Regions from separate parts of the Homo sapiens genome. Here region 2 is linked to region 1. Evidence: promoter capture Hi-C in human tissues and cell types (Jung and others, 2019). All regions are on one chromosome and are shown on one strand. The core of a region is centred on a gene start or on the middle of the fragment in contact, and the rest is flanking DNA. Distances in the headings are between cores, read along the strand shown. Region 1 holds the start of ZNF248 (zinc finger protein 248). Region 2 has its middle 38 kb from the start of ZNF248-AS1.

Region 1 (2,838 bases), core at 226-2,725:
TAATTTGCCAACTGCACTATTTTGGATTTGCTACTTCAGTTTTATTTCCCTTAATGTCAATTTTTGCCTATTTCTATTTTTCCATTTTCAAAACATAAACCCTTATAAACTTCAGAAATCCATTTTTAAACAAACTGGGAATAAAGAAACAAGAATCTCACCTGGGATTTGTTCATTTTCCGCTCTTAGTGGAGGAAGGAGAGCTGAAGGATTAGAAAGGAAGAATGTCAGGAGAGCCTTCGCCGGCCTTGCAGTTCGGAGATTCACCTGCCTATACAGGTCCACACACAAGATACTTACGTGTCCATGTGTGGCTCCGATATATGCTGAGCTCAGACATGACACTTTTCACTGAGTGAATGTAAATATTTCTTATTGATTTATTACCAATTTAGGTTCTGTGACACAGAAAAATTAAAAACATGAAAAGATGAGTTTAACAAGTTAACAGTAATCTGAAGGAAAAAACACTATGGGTTTGTCAAAATTCCTTGTAGGGAAAAAAAAAAACTGAGGCCATATTGTTTATCTGTTTACCTGTTAACACCATTAATGCCCTGAGGTTAGATAATGCAAAAGACCTCTAAAAAAAGGGATAGGATGTTAAATGCAAGTTTAAAAATGTTTGTTCTAACTTGCTAACAATTCCTCAAAAGGATCTTTTAATGAGAAACTGTGATATAGAGTAACAAAATGGGCAGCAGTGGCTCGGGAAACTGCAGACTTGACTTCTAATCTCAGTTCTGCCTCTAAGGAATGACAAGATCTGAACTACTCACCTCCTCAAACTCAATTTTGTTTTTCCATCTTTCAAATAAGGTCAAAACAGATAACCCAAGTATGACCTGACTGCACTACCATCCGGCGGGGATATCAGGCCAAGAGAGGAGGAAGCTCAGCAGCTCATCTGGATGTGCCCGGTGTTCGCGGAGGGGTGATAACAGCATTTCTTTCGCTGTGGCCGTGAGCCTTTCACCCGTCCCTGCCCTCAGACTCTCCAGAGGTGACGTTCCTGTTAGCCTGCGCGCCCACCCCTCAGCTCCAGCTCACCTCTCTCTTCTTAAATTTGTCCCAGACCTTGCACCAGCACACAGACTCCGACGGCTTCAGGATACTGTGCCATGATTACACATAATACATAAGCGAACGCGAAACGTGTAAATAATTACTTGGGATAGGAGGGCGGTCAGAGCCAGCAGGGGCCCTGGTGGTCAGCTAGGCCAGCCCCTTCGCTCCTGCACTCCACGGGCAGAGAGGCCCTTGGGGCCGGTGCAGGAGCCGTCTCCCTCGGGCTCTCCCAGGGAACGCACACCCAATAAATACAGCACCTAAACAATGAAAGTGCTCAAAACAACCCCAGGCGGCAAGTATTCCTAATATCCGTAATTTACAGAGAGGAAAACCGAGTCTCCCGTGGATAATTGTGTCTAATTCATTTGTCGCGGACCTGGCGCAGTCGCTCTCCCCCGCAGCCCCGCCTCCTCCCCGCGGGCTCAGGGCACAAAAAGCGCACACGCACACATCAAACGCCATGCGCACGCGCACAACAAACGTCACACGCTACGCACGCGCGTGCTGTCCCCTCCCCGCAGCCAGTTCCCTCCCCTTCGGGCCAGTGCGCATTGCCTACCCCGTGCTACAGGACTTCGCTGAGCGCCAGGCGCAGGGACTGGACGCATACGGACCCCCGGGAGCCCCGGAACTCGCGTTCCCACGCCAGACCTCATCCCCTTCTGACAGAGACGCCCTCGTCCCACCGTCGCCGCAGGCGCCAGGGGTCCCTCCCCACCGCCGAGGTCTAGCCGCCGCCCGCCCGCCTTCAGGGCAGCGCGGGGACCCCCTGGCCCTCGCCCAGTGCTCCGGGGCTCACCCGCCGCTCCTCGCCGCCTCCGGAGGCGAGGGATTGTTTCCCACAAGGGACTGGAGTCCAGGGAAGGACTCGCCTGGAGCGGGAGGCGGGGATGCACATGCGCAGAGGGAGAGGCCGAGCGCCCGAGTTAGGCTGGTGGATGCGATGCGGGGCTTGGAAGCGGCGCTAGACGGTGCCTGTCAGCTCTGGCCGCAACCCTCAGTTGTAAAATGAGGCTGATAGTGCCTACCTAGCAGGGGTTTTATGAGAATTGGAGGCGCTTACGTTGTAAAAGCATTTAAACCGGTGTCTGACACATAAATTGTTCAGTATATTTCTCACAATTATATATCATGCTGGTCATCATAAGGCTCTCCTGCAAAACAGCCTTGTATAGTGGGTTGAGAGATTACTGTCTCAGTTACCCACTCCTGCTTGGAACCAGGATTCTGTCAGTGTCCCCAGAGGTTGTGGATCAAATCAATGTGCCTGTTAGACACAAGCCAAGAGAAGGAAAGGTGTGCTTGAATTCATTCACGATCATGCATGGTAACGTTTAACTGAAAGACTGGAAGAGAAAACTAAAATCTGTGACCAGTATGGTTATTCTCTGGAATAAGGAAAAACAGAAGCTAGCAATTCAAGACCCAAACATAAAATTGTTTATATGTTTAAAAAAAAAAAAGCCGTTTGAGTAACAAATTTGAAGAAGAAAGCACGCACTCATTTCCCAAAACCAACCATACTTTACCCAGAACTACACTACACGTACATTCTTTTACGTGCACATCTGGCATTTTCAGCACACTATGAGCATGTGCGTGTGTTACAACTTTTCATTTAAAAAATCAACTCCTGGGTCATTGTCCACTTTTTTAAACTTTTCATTTGCTCATAATTTCAGATTTACAGAAGAGTTGCAAAATAGTTCCTATATGCCTTTCACCCAGATTCCACTAGTGTTAGTATTTTACATGACCATGGTATAT
Region 2 (2,700 bases), core at 65-2,564, 38 kb after region 1:
GAGATTAACACTTTTTGGATTACTTTATTCCAGGAAACTAAGTCAACTACATATAAAAGCGCGTATGTATGTAAGTGTAATTTCATCACAAATATCACAAGACTCATAAGTTGTGGTTATTTTTTCTTATTTCTAGAAGTCTGCAAAGTGGATGATCAACTAGAGCACTGTCAGGAAATCCAGGACAGACATATCTGGCAAGCTCCATATATCAACAATAGAACACTGACTATAGAGAGAGGTAACATAGTAGGAAAAGTGTTTGATTTCAGCATACACCAACTTCCTTCCATAAAAATACCTTGTAAATGTGACTTATGTGGTATGAGTTTGCAATACATTTCAGATTTATTTAATAGTAAGAAAAACTATTTAAGAAAGATGCCTCATGACCTCAGTGCATATGGAAAACTATTCCTCAATAGTAACCATGAAAAAACTCATATGGAAGAGAAACCTTATGAGTTTATTCAAAATGGAAAATGTCTCAGTCATAAGGAGGACTTCATTTCATATCTGAGAATTCAAAATTTAGAGCAATCTTTTGAATATAAGGAATGTGAAAAGGATTTCTATGGAAAGGCAGTTTTCATTACATATAAGCAAGCTTACACAGGAGCGAGTCCTTGTGTACACAATGAATGTAATAAAGTGTTCTGTAATAATTCAACTCTCATGGTCCATAAAATGTCAGAAAAAAGAGAAAACTTTTATGAGTTTAATGAATATGAAAAAACCTTTGAGAAGTCCCCTTTCTTGAAACATAAAGTTCATTTGGAGGTGAAACACTATAAACATATTGAAAGTGTAGGAATTTTAACAGATCAAGCTTTCCTAACACAAGAGAGAAAATATTTGAAAGTAACAAATCAGGGGAAGCTTTGTGCGAGAAGTCAGTACTTAATGTAACTCAGAGAACACACAGAGGAGAGGAAGTCTGTGGATGTGAGCCATGTGTAAAACCATTCTATGAAAAGTCAAAGCTAACCAAACATCAAAGAATCCATACAGGGGAGAAACCCTATGAATGTAATAAATGTGAAAAATGCTTTTCTAGGAAATCTCTCCTCACTCTACATCAGAGAGTCCACACAGGAGAGAAACCCTATGTAAGGAATGTGGGAAATGCTTTTCTAGGAATTCACACCTCATAATACATCAGAGAACTCACACAGGAGAGCAACCCTGTGAATGCAAGGAATGTAGAAAAAGCTTCTATCATAAGTCATATCTTACAGTACATCAGAGAATTCACACAGGGGAGAAACCCTATGAATGTAATCAATGTGGAAAAACCTTCATAAGCAACTCTGTTCTCACAATACATCGTAAAACATATACAGGTGAGAAACCCTATGAATGTAATGAATGTGGGAAATCTTTCTCTAGGAGTTCATATCTTACAATACATCAGAGAACTCACCCAGGCGAGAAACCCTATGAATGTAAGGTATGTAGCAAAACCTTTTGCCACAAGTCTGATGCCACTAAACATCAGAAGACTCACCTAGGGGGAAAACCCTATGAATGTACTCAATGTGGGAAAACTTTTAGTCGTAACTCAGGCCTAAAAGTACATCAGAGAACACATGCAAAGGAGAAACCCTATGAATATACTGAGTGTGGGAAATCCTTCTCTGAGAAATCAGTCCTCACAGTACATCAGAGAATACACACAGGGGAAAAACCTTATAAATGTAATGCACGTGGAAAAACCTTCTACAATAAATCAGACCTAACCAAACATCAGAGAACACACACAGGTGAGAAGCCCTGTGAATGTAAGGAATGTGGGAAATTCTTCTCTAGGAATTCATACCTTACAATACACCAGAGAATGCATACAGGAGACAAACCCTATGTGTGTAAAAAATGTGGGAAAACCTTCTACCATAAGGCAGACTATACAGTACATAAGAGAACACACAGAGGGGAGAAATCTTATTACTGTAATAAATGTGGGAAAACCTTTATTTGCAACTCAGTCCTCAAATCACATCAGAGAACACACACAGGGGAGAAGCCCTATGGATGTAATGAGTGTGGGAAGTCCTTCTCTGAGAAATCAGTCCTTACTGTACATCAGAGAATACACACAGGGGAAAAACCTTATAAATGTAATGAATGAGGGAAGTCCTTCTATCATAAGTCAGATCTCACTAAACATTAGAGAACACATACAGTAGAGAAACCCTATGAATGTAATCAGTGTGGGAAAAGCTTCAGTTGCAGCTCAGGCCTCAAAGTACATCAGAGAAGTACAAGGGAGAAACCCTATGAATGTAACCAGTGTGGGAAACCCTCTGAGAAATCAAGTCTCATAGCACATCCAAGGATACACATGGGAAAAAGCTTATAAATGTAGAAATGAGAGAAATCTTTCTCAAGCAATTCATACCTGAAAATACGTAGGAGAAATCAAATAGGACATGACCCCTGTGAATGTAAAGAATTTGGCAAACCTTTTACCATAAGTCATCTTCCAAAGTAAATAAGAGAATAGACGGGGAGGAGCCAAGATGGCCAAATAGGAACAGCTCCGGTCTACAGCTCCCAGGGTGAGCGACGCAGAAGACGGGTGATTTCTGCATTTCCATCTGAGGTACCGGGTTCATCTCACTAGGGAGTGCCAGACAGTGGGCGCAGGTCAGTGGGTGCGTGCACTGTGCGCGAGCCGAAGCAGGGCGAGGCATTGCCTCA

Evidence for each region. The method cuts DNA at HindIII sites, captures the fragments that hold promoters and counts their contacts. A contact is called where the count stands out against the background at its distance.
Region 2: a contact is called between a fragment that was not itself captured here and the fragment with the promoter of ZNF248 in region 1, in 2 of the 25 tissues and cell types used here (mesenchymal stem cells and mesendoderm cells).

What each region holds. Positions count from the first base shown.
Region 1 is chr10:37,856,135-37,858,972 of GRCh38, forward strand. It overlaps ZNF248 (zinc finger protein 248), which reads right to left and starts at 1,476. Exons shown (of 6, transcript NM_021045.3): 1 at 1,051-1,476; 2 at 301-398; 3 at 162-203. The coding sequence starts at 176. It overlaps ZNF248-AS1 (ZNF248 antisense RNA 1), which reads left to right and starts at 1,615. Exons shown (of 2, transcript NR_186559.1): 1 at 1,615-2,367. RefSeq lists an enhancer at 969-1,028 and silencers at 1,346-1,722, 1,419-1,968. The HindIII fragment of the contact is 12,949 bases long and covers 1-2,838 here.
Region 2 is chr10:37,894,466-37,897,165 of GRCh38, forward strand. It overlaps the pseudogene ZNF33CP. Among named protein-coding and RNA genes, the nearest start is that of ZNF248-AS1, 38 kb to the left of the region's middle. The HindIII fragment of the contact is 3,993 bases long and covers 1-2,700 here.